Regions from separate parts of the Homo sapiens genome. Here regions 1, 2, 4 and 5 are each linked to region 3. The links are contacts of gene promoters, found by promoter capture Hi-C in human tissues and cell types (Jung and others, 2019). All regions are on one chromosome and are shown on one strand. Each heading gives the region's core, a stretch centred on a gene start or on the middle of the fragment in contact. The rest is flanking DNA. Distances are from core to core; before and after follow the strand shown. Region 1 has its middle 24 kb from the start of ZNF124. Region 2 holds the start of ZNF124 (zinc finger protein 124). Region 3 holds the start of ZNF670 (zinc finger protein 670). Region 4 has its middle 9.6 kb from the start of MIR3916. Region 5 overlaps ZNF695 (zinc finger protein 695).

Region 1 (2,700 bases), core at 69-2,568, 69 kb before region 3:
CATACATGTAAGGGAATGTTGCTCCCTTTTGGAAGACAATTCTTCATGGATCTCTCACTTCATTTTCCCACATCTTGTATAAGCGTTTCTTCTGGGCTGTCTTTTTCAGGATTTTTTTAAATGAAAGAAACAGACTTGAAGGATGTGTATCTTCAGGTCAAAGGCCAAATAAATACCTGGACAATTTAATAAAGATTATGCCTTTCTCTGAGGCAGTGGTTGGAAGGTTTTCTTTGAAACACATGTTAAAGCACTGGGATTTGTTTTTTTTTTCTTTTTTTTGAGACGGAGTCTCACTCTGTCACCCAGGCTGGAGTGCAGTGGCACAATTTCGGCTCACTGCAAGCTCCACCTCCTGGGTTCACGCCATTCTCCTGCCTCAGCCTCCAGAGTAGCTGGGCCTACAGGTACCCGCCACCACACCTGGCTAATTTTCTTTTTTTTTTTGTATTTTTAGTAGAGACGGGGTTTCACCGTGTTAGCCAGGATGGTCTCAATCTCCTGACCTCGTGATCTGCCCGCCTCGGCCTCCAAAAGTGCTGGGATTACAGGCGTGAGCCACCGTGCCCTGCCAAAGCACTGGGATTTCTTAACCTTGAGATTCCTCAGCTGTGATCAAAATCTACTGAGCAGAAAGCATCCAGTTGGGTCTCTTTGATCATCCCTGTCACTTGGAGTGGACGTGGGGAACAGATACAGATATGGAGCTCTTGCTTCCATTTGTGTGATGAACCATCAAATATTTTTCATCAGGCCTAGGAATCTCATGCCTTCTTCTAATATCCATGAAGTTGACAGTCTTCATTTTTTGGCTTGCAAATAGAAAAAAATCCACGAATGTTCACATTTTTGACAGCTTGGGTGATGATGCGATTGATTCTGATAAATCTATAACCTTATAACCTGGTATAAGAGGAAAGTAGAAAGATTCTTCACAGACCTGGCCAGGGCTTATGAGAAGGCTTCCTGGAACAAGTAGCAAATTCTCTTACCCAAATGAGAGTTGAGTAAGAGTAAGATCCCTCCACTCGCCAACCTGTTAGCGAGGTTGTTGTGTGAGAGGGAGAATTGAAAGGAGCAGTCTAAATGTGCTCATATGTTCATTCTCCTAGCCAAAGTAGGAAAGAATGAGGAGTCCACAAAGCTGATAGAGCACTTTGGATAAATAGAAAATACTGTAAGTTCTTGTGGTTTTGCTGAAAGCAGTCAACAGGCTGCTAGAAACTAAAAGGAAATGTGGGTGTTGGTGCCTTGCTTATAAGCAGAGAATCTCTCTCTCTCTATGTACTCGCTGATACCAAAACTTCACTGACAGGGCTTGGGCAGGGTTCACCATGAAAGCAGAAATGTCACAAAACAATGGAGGTGGGGCCTTTGGGGCTAACTCAATGTCTTCTTGTGTTTCTACACCAAAATTTACAGTTAGAATTTTGTTGTATGTGTTTGTGCTTCCCTGTCCCCTAAGTGCCGGAGGGGATTATTCCAGTCTGGGTGGGAGACAGGTAGAAGAGTGTGAGAGAGACAGAATTCTCCATTTGCCACAGAGGGCAGGTCAGTCTTTATCATGAGAACCTTTACACTCTGATATGCAAAATGTTCACCCTGCATGAGCTGTTAGCTGCAAAGACAGAGGTGTCTGTCTCAGTGCTCCTGTCTAGAATAGTAATATCTCTCTGCTAGTAGATGTAGCTGATAATTGAGACTGTGCTTCAAAAAGTTAAAGAAGCAGCCAGGCGCAGTGGCTCACGCCTGTAATCTCAGCACTTTGGGAGGCCGAGCCGTGTGGATCACGAGGTCAGGAGTTCGAGACCAGCCTGGCCAATATGGTGAAACCCCATCTCTAATAAAAATACAAAAATTAGCCAGGCATGGTGGTGCATGCCTGTAATCCCAGCTACTCTGGAGGCTGAGGCAGGAGAATGGCTTGAACCCAGGAAGCGGAGGTTGCAGTGGGCTGAGATCGTGCCACTGGACTCCAGCCTGGGCAACAGAGCAAGACCCCGACTCAAAAAAAAAAAAAAAAGTTAAGCCAATGACTAACAGAAATCCTTGAGTTTACAGGATGGCAAATTAAAAAAAAAAAAAACTTGCTAAAACACTGAAATTCCCTCCACTTACGAGATAAAAGTAATTAGCTGAAATTGGTTTAAACCAATAGAACCAATGGGACTCTGCACAGAATGAGCTTGCTGACATCATAGCCTGAATTTCCACTATGTTTCCTACTAACTCCCCCCAAATTTGCACATATGACCCATGAGGAAGCATGAAGAGATAACTGGGCATGCCCATGGACATTCCAGACCTCCCATTATCATCCGCTAGTCACCTCCTAACCTCAGAAGCTACCCCCCGGTACCTGTTCTAGTAGAAATTCTGCCTTGATGCCAGCAGAGGGAGACAGATTCGGGCTTGGGACTCCTGTCTCTTTGGGAGTGAACTTTCAACATAAAGCTTGTCTCAAAAACAAAAATCCAGTGACAACTCAATGTATTGGCTCTTAGCACATTGGATAGTAAGCACTGTTTTCTCAATAACAAGAAGACCTGAAAAAAACCCAGAGTTCTGCTTTCCAAATAAGGTTTAGTGAAGCTAAGTGGACATATTTTCATTGCTTAATTCTTCCAGCAGTCAAGAAAAACTTGATCACTTTGCCATTTGAGGCCTTTGACAAAAAGAGCCTGCACCTAAAGATATTCT
Region 2 (2,700 bases), core at 87-2,586, 93 kb before region 3:
GGTAATACGTACACCTAGTGCAGACAGGATGCCAGGATTCAATGACATGTTGATTGCAATTTACCAGGCAAACACAAGGCACCCTGTATGTACTGATTTCCTTTTCCCTTTATGTAAAGTTGGATTTCTGGTTAGACGGTGTTGAGCCATACAGAAGTGCACGTAGACATGCATGTGATTTGTGCTTAAACTCACACACTTAAATTCCACACCACAGGAGGAAACAGAAAACCACAGCCTGACCATTAGGGCCAAAGCCAAATTGCAAAATGAGAAGTTTGTCTTTAATGTATTCCCTCTACATCTAAAGTCCTGAGGTTAAGGCTGTGGACAAATCTGAAGACATGGGTTTTCTTCTCCTGGGGCCCCTCATCTTTTTTTCACTGTCTTATCTATAGAAGAGGCTGGGCCCCTGGCAAGAGCAGGTGGGAAATAGTAGACTCCCTCTAGATACTTCTTTATTGCAGCCCACTTCTCTCTCTGGGCACTGTCTCTGCCACCCTTGGGCCTGAGGAGAGATGTTAGCAGAAGGAGGGCATTCCCTCACCTCTAGCAGAAAAGAGGGGTTCGGGCCCTTCACTCCCTGAGGTCAGGGGAACCAGAGCCCTCAAAACTGCACTTCAGTGTGACAGTCATTGCCCACAGGGGTCTACTTAGCACCTAGAATGTGGCTGGTCTGAATCGGTACATGCTGGAAGTTTAAAACGCAGAGTGACTTTGAAAGATTTAGTACCAAAAAACAGAACAACAAAAAATACTTCATTAATATTATATTTATCATATATTTAAATTATAATATTTTGTATATATTGAGTTAAATAAAGTATTGCAATCAATTTTACCTGTTTATTCCTCGTTTCTGTTGCTACTAGAAATTTTAAAATGACACCTGTGGCTCACATGTGATTTCTGTGGAAATCGCAGCCTTGGAGGATTGCTTCCCTTTTCAAAACTCGGGCTCCTCAGACTGCTTCCTCAGAAGACCAGAGGCCATGAAGGTTAATAAGTCTGAAATTTTAAAAGAATTATTATTATATTGTTTCCTATTTTAAATATCATATATATTATTCACAAATGAATGTAACATTGTATACAAGGTTAAGTGTATATAAATGAATGTCCCCTAGGCAAGGCTGGGTCCCAACCCAGAGAGGAAACCCTCTTGGAGAAGAGCTGTAGCCAGAACGCTGCCTCATTCAGACACGCGCGGGAGCTGTCACCTGTCACTAAGAGTCTGAGGGGGCGGGGCCTGAGGCCCTACCCAATCAGGGGCACCGGGGCGGGGACTGCCTAATCCGGCGCTCCGCTAGAAAACCCGAGGCGGCTTCCGGGTGTGCCCGGCCTTTGTCTCTCGTGCCCGCACGTGCGTGTCTCGGTCAGTAGCCCTGCGCTTCTCCTTCACTCTCGGCGGTTCAGGAGGCTCTGCCGCAGCCGGGGCCCTCCTGTGACCTGCATGTACTGGGGGATTCGCAGGGAGGATGTCGGGACACCCCGGAAGCTGGGAAATGGTGAGTTGCGCCGCCGGGGGTCTGGAGAAGGGAAGGGGCTGTGGCGGCCCCGGGCCCCGGGCTCCCAGCGGTCGGCTCCCGAGGGCGGACCCGGGTCCCTGCTGGCGCGGCGCGGCGCGGCCCTCGGTCCTTTCTGGCGCCCGGCAGAGCTGGGCGGGCAGCGGCACCCCGGGCTCCGGTCCCGTCTCTGCACCGCGACTTCCGTCCTGCCCGAAGCAGCTTCCCTCCCCGGCCCGCGCCCGCAGCCCCGCGGCTCCTCGGGATCCTGCAGTGAGACCCGAGGCGCCTCAGGGGAGAGGCCCAGCGCGGTGTGCGGGCTCGCGCCTGCGAGGAGCTGTGGCCACTGGCGTTTCCAGTCCCTCCTTAATCCTGTTAAAAATTAAACTGAGGTTTAATTAAAGCGTTACAGAGTTTGAGCAAACAGCGATTCATGAGTAGGGGAGCACCCAGCCACGGTTTTTGGTTTGTGGGCCACCGGACGGTCTTGATGGAAAGGCTTCTGTAAAGTGTGTAAGGAAACAAACCAAATTTATTTATTTTTTATTTTAATGATCGGGTGGGGCGGGGGGGGGGTCTCCCTGTGTTGCCCAGGCTGGTCTTGAACTTCTGGTCTCAACCTCCCGAAGTGCTGGGATTACCCCGCCCAGCCCAAAGCAACCCCAATTTAATAACTGATTGGTTATAATTATGTAGTTCTGTTATTCGGATTATTTAGGTGGATGGTTCCTGGTTATGTAATCAGAGGTAAATTGCTGATTTGGGGTTAAGTTTTCTTTCCCTTCAAGTTAATTACAAGAAAGGCATGAAGTACCTTTAGGTTTTCTTGGTGAGGAACTCAGGGCACCATCATCACTTAAGGGAGGAGACCACCCCTCATATTGTCTTATGCCCAATTTCTGCCTCCAAAGAAAGAAGAAGTAAAAACTAAAAGGCAGAAATGAAATCCACAGGCAGACAGCCCGGCGCCGCGTCCTGGGCCTGGTTACAGATTGACCCTTGACCTGACCGGTTGTGTTATCTATAGATTCCAGACATTGTATGGAAAAGCACTGTGAAAATCCCTGTCCTGTTCTGTTCCGTTCTGATTGCCGGTGCATGCAGCCCCCAGTTATGTACCCCCTGCTTGGTCAATCGATCACGACCCTCTCACGTGGACCCCCTTAGAGTTGTAAGCCCTTAAAAGGGACAGGAA
Region 3 (2,700 bases), core at 199-2,698:
GACTGCAGTGTATGGAATCTCATTAAATACACAAAAAATAAGGTTAGAAAAAAGTCACTCACATTTTTTTTGTTTGCTGAGGCCACGCCGTCATTGTTATGACAATTGATTAAAGGGAGAATCAAGCTTTTATTCTTCCTTTCCTAATAGGGTAGGTTTTAATGTAATGGAGAGAGTTCATGAGAAAACGCCATTTTTAATAGAAGAATGAGAACTAATACCTGTAGAGAAAATAATTAGAAAACCACTATTTGGCAACTCTCACTGAGATAAGTGAAATTAAGAAATAGTAATCAATAAATAATGAACAGTTACATGAAAGGAACAGGCAGACATTCCCGAACAACCTTAAAATAAAGTGGTAAAACCAGACACGTGTATCCAAATGTGCAGGCTGAATTGAAACATGCTGGAAGCTTAATATATAGAGTGATTTTTCATTAATAATATATCGATTGTAAGGCCGTCTGAGCAGGCTGCGCCATGGTCAAGCCATTGTGATCCCTGTGACCCACACGTGTACATCCAGAAGGTCCTGGAGCCAGAAAGTCTGGGACAACAGGAAAACCACAAAGGAAGAAAAACGGCTAGTTTCTGTCTTAGCTGATTAGCCAACCTTGCAGCATTTTACCGTTGTGACGTGCACTACCCTAACTGATCAATCAGCCTAGTGACACTGTGACCCCTCCCTCTTGTGACAATGTACTTTGTGACATTCTTCCCCCGCCGGTAATAAACGGCCCCTGACTGTAACTTTCCACTGCTTACCCCTCACCTATAAAACTAACTCCAATCCCACGACCCTCCGCTGACCCTCTTTTCGGACTCAGCCCGCTCGCACCCGAGTGAGTAAACTAGCCTTGCTGCTCACACTTAACCTGTTTGGGTAGTCTCTTCAATTAGGCGCGAGCTTAACATCGATCATATATTGAAACAATATTTTTGGATATATTTGGTTAAATAAATCATTGTAATCAATTTCACGTGTTGTTTTCTTTTCTATTGCTACTGGAACACACGCGGCTCACATTTTATTTCTATGGGGCGTTGCTACCTGAGAGGACATTGTCTTTTCAAAATTCAAGCTGCCTCTAATCCCACTAGAAGCAAGAAAAAAAAAAAAATTCAGGCTGCCTCCTCAAAAGACCAGAGGCCAGGAAGGTTGTGAAATCTGAAATTTTAGAATAATTGTCATCATAGTGTTTCCAATTGTAAATATCACAAATATTACTCATAAATGGACATAATCCTGTGTATGAGCTTGAATGGGAAAGTCCCCCGGGGGGCGCCAGGTCTCAGCACAGGGCAGAATCCATGCCTTAGAAAAGGACTGCAGGGAAAGAACCTGGCCTCACTCAGCGCCGTGTCTGATTGCATCTCCCGTCACTCAGGACTGAAGGGGCGGGGCCTAAGGCCCTGTCCAATCGGGCGCTGGGAAGGGGACTGTACTCTCAAGCGCGCCGCGAAAGGAGGGAGCAGCTTCCGGGACCTGGCGCGGCTTTTGTGTTGGGCAGCGCGAATGTGGCGAGCTCGGTGCGTCTCCGCTGCTCCTTCCCCTTATCCCTGGGAGGTCCAAGTGGTCCCGCGGCAGCTTCTGTTGCTCTGGGACCTGCAGGTCCCGGAAGGTCCTTAGGGAGGACCCCAGACACCGGAGACTGGGAAATGGTGAGTGTGCCGGCCAGGTGTCTCGGGAAGGGGAAAAGGGAACCGCCAGGAAGCGGTTGTGGCGAACCCGGACCTCCCCGCGGTGCCGACCCGAGTTTCCGCCGGCGCCTCGCGGCCTTAGTGGCACAGGATGCGGGGCTGGACCCGCAGCCAGACCCCGGGCCGCCTGGCTTGTCCCTGCCCCGCCGCTTCGGCCAGGCCCGGAACCCTTTCTGGGCAGCTCTGCCTCTGTAGACCCGCATCTCCCTCGGATCGTGCGGTGCCGACGGGAGGGTCCTCAGGGGAGAGTCCCGACTTGGGGTTCGGGGTTCCTGCGTGGGAGGAGCTGTGGTCTGTGAAGTCTCCAAATCCTCCTTTCTCCTGTTAGAAAGAAAACTGAGGCGCCGTTAAAATATTAAGGAGTTTATTTGAGCAGAGAGTCGTGAGTTAGGAAGCCACCAGCGTGGTTTGTGGTTTGGGGAAGGAAAGGGTTTTTTGTAAGGAACCCGAGGAAGCAAACCCAATTAAATAATTGATCGTGTACAGTTATGTAGTCACCCCATATAGACTGTGCAGCCAGATATCTCCTGGTTATGTAACCAGAGGTTAATTGGTGGGTTCGTGGTTGTTTAAGGCTGTTTTGTTTCCCTTTAAGTTATTAATTTACAAGACAAGCATGAGTTACGTTTTGGTTGGTTGTTTATTCATTCATGTGTGTATGTACATGTGTATGATGGAGTCTTGGACTCGGGCTCAAGCGATCCCCCCACCTCAGTCTCCCTAGTGCCTGTGTTTAATTATTTTCACATAACACTCCACATTTCTAAGTGTATGGCAACAGGATCTCACATCAACGACCCTGTTCCCACAGCCTAACTCTTCTGGGGCTTGTAGTAAAACCCTAAATTTCCAATTCTTTTCCTATATTCAAATGCAACATTATCAAGTATTTGTCTTTTATTGTACATTTCATACAGATGAAGTGTGTTATTTTTTTCAGAGTAGTGAGTCGTTCTGAAAATATTTGTTTTCACTCTTAAAATATTTCTGAACATT
Region 4 (2,700 bases), core at 23-2,522, 110 kb before region 3:
TAATGTCAAAAATTATATCATTTTATATTGTGCATTTATTAATAGATTTACAGAGATTTACGTTGTTTTTCACATTCTGCAGAGTTTTTGGTTTTATGTAACATTGGACAAGTCTATATCTGTGTATATATTTACCTTTAACAGCTTTATATTTTCATATGAATTTATGATGTTCTCCAGCATCATTTTATTGTTCAACATAATGGACTGCTTTTATCATTTCTTGTAGGACTGTACTAGTAGCAGCAAACATTCTCAGCTTTTGTTTATCTTGGAAGTCTATTTTTCACTTATTTTTGAAAGTAAATTTTTTTTACATCAAGTATCCTTAGTAATATTTTGGTTTTATCTCATTGAAAGTTTAGAAGTTCTCAGCCCCCCTCCCCTTTTTTTTTTTTTAAATAACTTACCGCTTTTCACCTATATCTTCTAAGTCTCTTTTTATGGATATATTGGTCTACTGAATGGTTTCTATTAAGTCCAATATTCCATCTTCATTGTTTTCCATTTTTAAAATTTTGCTTCCACAACTCAATATTTATAAATGATATGTCTTCAATTTGCTGATGTTTTTTCTGCCTCATTAAGTCTGCTGTTTTGGCTCTTCAGTTAATTTTTCAACACAGTGTATTTTCCAGCTCAACAATTTTAGTTGGGTTTTTTTTTTTTTTTTTTTTTTTTTTTTTTGTTGGGGGCAGAGTCTTGCTCTGTTGCCCAGGCTGGAGTGCAGTGGAGTGATCTTGGCTCACTGCAACCTCTGCATCCCAGGTTCAAGCAATTCTCCTGCCTCATCCTCCTGAGTAGCTGAGATTACAGGTACCCGCCATTACGCCCGGCTAATTTTTTGTATTTTTAGTAGAGACGGGGTTTCACCATGTTGGCCAGGCTGGTCTCGACCTCCTGACCTCGTAATTCACCTGCCTCAACCTCCCAAAGTGCTGGGATTACAGGCGTGAGCCACCACACCAAGCTTAGTTGGGTTCTTTTTTATAGGTTTTTTTTTTTTAAAATCTCTTTGTTGATGTATTATTTTCCTCATGCATGGTTTTCTGTTTTTTTTTTTTTGTTTTTTTTTTTTTTATAAACAGGGTTTCACTCTCTCATCCAGGCTGGTGGTGTGTAGCGGTATGATCATAGCTCACTGTAGCTTCAAACTCCTCAGCTCAAGTGATCCTTCCACCTCAGCCTTCTAAGTAGCTGGGACTATAGGCATATACCACCATGCCTGGCTAATTTAAAAAAAAAAATTGTAGAGACAGTCTCACCGTGTTACTCAAGCTGGTCTTGAACTCGGTCTCAAGCAGTTCTCCCACCTCAGCCTTCCAAAATGCTGGAATTCCAGGTGTGAGCTTCTGTACATAGCCAGGATTTATTTTTAAATGAACAACAAGGAGAGTATTTTACTTTATGTAAACCATAATGCTCTTGTCACCATGCCCAACCTGATTTTGTAGAGTTATCTATATGTGTTCTACTTTTGGTCATTGAACATGTTTAAGATGATTACTTTAAATTCTTTGTCAAAAAAATGCAAAAATCTCCCTTTTTTAAGGGTCAGTTTCTGGAGATTTGTTTCTTCAAGTAGGGCAGGTTTCCTATTTTCTCTGTGTGCCCCGTGATCACATACACAAAAATAAAATTCTATAGTACTAGAATGATGGTATATGAAACAACTATGCTCTGGTAATCTCATAGAAGCATGCTTATAGATGACACATTGCTTTTCCCTTTCTGTTTTTGAGATTCTCTTCTCATCTGTAATTTTTTGAAACTGCTTATAATGTATCTTGTTATGTGTCTGTTTGTGTTTATCCTATTTGAAATGTGTTGAGCTTCTTAATTTTTTTTTTTTACATTTGAGAATTTGTCAGGGTTTCTCATTTTCTTAATTTCATGTCTGTTTTCCTGTTTTACTCATTGGGCATTATTCAAATGGTTATCTCAGATTTTTCAGGTAACTTATACATCTCCATTTCTTTAGGGTTGATTTCTGGATATTTATTTATTTATTTATTTATTTATTTATTTATTTATTTATTTTTTTTTTGATTGAGCCATGTTACCCTAATGTATATGTTGCAATCTTTGGTTGAGATTTGGGCACTAAAAGCCATCTGTCAAAATCTTTATAAAATGGCTTTGTCCTGGATAATCTGATACCAAGTGACTTGGGCTAGGGTTTCCATGAGCCTCTCAAACCTATTCTCAGGATGTATGTTCTCTGGAATTTTGTGTTTAATTTCCAGTTAAAGAGGTTTACCCTTGTTTCTTCTTTCTTTCTTCTTCTCTAATCAATTATTTGCTAAATCTGTTGTCTGTCTGTAGTACTGCAGCCTCTCTGCTGCTATAACAATTATTTACCTTTGGTCTCAGCAGAACCAACCTTTGAATTAAAGGTTGGTTCTATTCTACCACTATTCCTTTCAGCACTTTGTGTCATGGGAGACAGAAACTAGTCTTTGGAAATTCCATCAAAAGTATGGGCATATGTGCCACTACTGTCTCTATTGAAGGAGAAGCTAGGAGTTGGGAGTTTATTCCTGAAGTCATTATGCTGTGTTTAGGAGAAGAAAGAGTTGTGGTGGGTAAATGTAACAAGCTTTCCTTCCCCTTGTCTATGGCTTTTAATATGGTTTCTAGAGTTCTCACAAAGGCATTTTGTTCAGTATATTTTTGTTATATTATGTTCATCAAAAAATC
Region 5 (2,700 bases), core at 17-2,516, 94 kb after region 3:
TGAAATGCTCTTTTTAGACTGTTTGAACTTAATTTGTTTTAATAAGACATTGTTTTAATGTCTTTGGACCGTTGTACATTAAGTGATGCGTATCCTACCACCAACGTTAACCTATCTCACCTTAGTTACGGTTGTAGGTAACAAATGGTAACAATACAATAGTGGGTAACATGGTGGAATAGTATCTCTAATGATCCCTTCTCCCAGTGGCATTAAACTTCAAATAATTTGAAAAATATTGTTCCCACACGTTACACCTTCATTCTGTTTGCTCTTTTTGTAATGACAGTGTCATTATTAAGGCTATAATAAAGCCTATATAGGATTATAATCAAAGACCGTGTATTTCTGAATCTTGAAGGACTATTCACAAAATTTTATTTACATTTTCCTTTTAACATGTGGCTTTTCTGGCCTGCAAAACATATACATGCTTTTAGTTTTGGTTTACATGGAGATAAATACATAAATATACTACTCTAAGGATAAATGTTAGGTGTAAGACAGTTATGAAGCAAGTAATGTGTTTGAAGTAAGTGCATACCTGTTTTCAGAATAAGAGAAAAATGTTGGAACCAAACATAATTTCAAAAGTATGGATAATTTATTAGCAAACTAGAAACCTCAAAAATGTCGAAGGCAAATCTGTTTTCTCTGCTTTGTATTGAAGGCATTTCTCTAAAATCTTATTTTGCAGAATTTCCACATGAAATTCCTGTTTTTACTTTTATGTTGCTCATGCTAGAGCTAACGTATAATTTTCTTGTTCCAAAATTCATGAAGAATTTCTTATGTGATCTTCTCAGGGATTATAATAATGATTTTATGAAACTTATTGGTGCTTAAAAAATAATCTGAAGATGTGAATAATTCCACAGTGAGTGTATTAATTTTCATTGTACTTAATTAGTACATTTCCATTTTTCCATTATTAGAGAACACTATTCGAGCCAACTTTTTTTGTTATTGTTTCTTTCACTTAATTGAGTAATTGAGTTTATTGACTCTATTGGGCAATTTGTTCAGATAAACACTTTGGAGGCTTTATAAGTCATAGGGCTATTTGGCATATAAATGAAGTGAAGAAACATAACGCAGTGCCAGATGTGTAGTAGATGTTCCATAATTAACAATAAATATTCTTTTTGGAGTGAAGTTGTGGCTCCAGGTAAGAGATTGGAAATATCCAGGATGAAGACCTGGCATTGATTCTGCATGCAGAGAAAGGACTTCTCTACCCAGGCTGCACAACTGACTCTCTCTGAAGAGGAATTCTGCTTTTATTTCCAAATTATCTCTGTTTTTTTGTGGTCTCTTTTTCTTTCTTCTCAACTACTTATGCATTCCAGCTCTCCTCCTTTTTTTTTTTTTTTTTTTTAAAACCTGTGTTATGGCTACACTTTCTCACTGTTCTCCACACAATATGTCATCTTATATAGTACTTTGTACATTCTAACAGGAAATTTGGACTTTCTCTTTTTCTTCTTCTTTTTTTTTTTTTTTTTTGGAGACATGGTCTCACTGTGTCACCCAGGCTGGTGTGCACTGGTGTAATCTCGGATTACTGCAACCTCTGCCTCCCAGACTCAAGCAATCATCCCACCTCAGCCCCCTGAGTAGCTGGGACTAGAAGTGTGCACCCCCACTCCTAGCTAATTCTTTTTTTAGTAGAGATGAGGTTTTACCATGTTCCCAGGCTTGTCTTGAACTCCTAAGCTCTAGTGACTGACCTGCCTTGGCCTCCTAAAGTGCTGGGATTATAGGTATGAGCCACACCTGGCCTGGAAATTTGAAATTTTTTAATGTGATGATAGATTTTTGTTTGTTTGTTTGTTTGTTTTGAGACTGAGTCTCACCCTGTCACCCAGGCTGGAGTGCAGTGGTGCAATCTTGGCTCACTGCAACTTCCACCTCCTGGGTTCAATCAAGTCTCTTGCCTTGGTCTGCCAAGTAGCTGCGATTACAGGCACGCACCACCATGCCTGGCTAATTTTTGTATTTTTAGTAAAGATGGGGTTCATCATGTTGGCCAGGCTGGTCTTGAACTCCTCACCTGAGGTGATCCACCCACCTCAGCCTCTCAAAGTGCTGGGATTACAGGCATGAGCCACTGCGCCCAGCCAATAGATTGACTTTTAACTGGAGAGTTTGAGGTCATTTATATTTTACAAAACTGACATTGTGATCATAGCTTACTGCAGTCTCAACCTCCCAGGCTCAGGTTATCCTCTCATCTTAGCTCCCTGGGTAGCTAGGAGTACAGCCACATGCCACCATGCCCAGCTAATTTTTTTTATTGTTTTGTAGAAATGAAGTCTCACTGTGTTTTCCAGGCTGATCTCAAGCTCCTGCGCTCAAGCAACCCCCCTACCTCAGCCTCCCAAAGTGCTGGCATTACAGGCATGTGCCACCATGTGGCCCAGCTACAAGCAACACATTCTTTTTTTTTTTTTTTGAGACAGAGTCTCGCTCTGTCACCCAGGCTGGAGTGTAGTGGCGCGATCACGGCTCACTGCAAGCTCTGCCTCCCAGGTTCATGCCATTCTTCTGCCTCAGCCTCCCAAGTAGCTGAGACTGCAGGCGCCCGCCACCACACCCGGCTAATTTTTTTGTATTTTCAGTAGAGACAGGGTTTCACCGTGTTCCCCAGGATGGTCTCAATCTCCTGACCTCATGATCCACCTGCCTCGGCCTCCCAAA

What was found. The method cuts DNA at HindIII sites, captures the fragments that hold promoters and counts their contacts. A contact is called where the count stands out against the background at its distance.
Region 1: a contact is called between a fragment that was not itself captured here and the fragment with the promoter of ZNF670 in region 3, in 2 of the 25 tissues and cell types used here (bladder and spleen).
Region 2: the fragment with the promoter of ZNF124 here is called in contact with the fragment with the promoter of ZNF670 in region 3 in 1 of the 25 tissues and cell types used here (hippocampus).
Region 4: a contact is called between a fragment that was not itself captured here and the fragment with the promoter of ZNF670 in region 3, in 2 of the 25 tissues and cell types used here (mesenchymal stem cells and pancreas).
Region 5: a contact is called between a fragment that was not itself captured here and the fragment with the promoter of ZNF670 in region 3, in 3 of the 25 tissues and cell types used here (mesenchymal stem cells, mesendoderm cells and neural progenitor cells).

What each region holds. Positions count from the first base shown.
Region 1 is chr1:247,146,552-247,149,251 of GRCh38, reverse strand. It overlaps a transcript of ZNF124 not described here. Among named protein-coding and RNA genes, the nearest start is that of ZNF124, 24 kb to the left of the region's middle. The HindIII fragment of the contact is 7,827 bases long and covers 1-2,700 here.
Region 2 is chr1:247,170,656-247,173,355 of GRCh38, reverse strand. ZNF124 (zinc finger protein 124) reads left to right here and starts at 1,336. Exons shown (of 4, transcript NM_001297568.2): 1 at 1,336-1,508. The coding sequence starts at 1,479. The HindIII fragment of the contact is 9,791 bases long and covers 1-2,700 here.
Region 3 is chr1:247,077,559-247,080,258 of GRCh38, reverse strand. It overlaps ZNF670 (zinc finger protein 670), which reads left to right and starts at 1,448. Exons shown (of 4, transcript NM_033213.5): 1 at 1,448-1,665. The coding sequence starts at 1,663. It overlaps ZNF670-ZNF695 (ZNF670-ZNF695 readthrough (NMD candidate)), which reads left to right and starts at 1,448. Exons shown (of 7, transcript NR_037894.2): 1 at 1,448-1,665. RefSeq lists silencers at 1,414-1,483, 1,272-1,585. The HindIII fragment of the contact is 11,562 bases long and covers 1-2,700 here.
Region 4 is chr1:247,191,141-247,193,840 of GRCh38, reverse strand. No RefSeq gene overlaps it. Among named protein-coding and RNA genes, the nearest start is that of MIR3916, 9.6 kb to the left of the region's middle. The HindIII fragment of the contact is 4,662 bases long and covers 1-2,700 here.
Region 5 is chr1:246,982,959-246,985,658 of GRCh38, reverse strand. ZNF695 (zinc finger protein 695) reads left to right here. Exons shown (of 4, transcript NM_020394.5): 4 at 1-336. All of the region lies in intron 4 of ZNF670-ZNF695 (ZNF670-ZNF695 readthrough (NMD candidate)), which reads left to right. Among named protein-coding and RNA genes, the nearest start is that of ZNF695, 24 kb to the left of the region's middle. The HindIII fragment of the contact is 4,237 bases long and covers 1-2,700 here.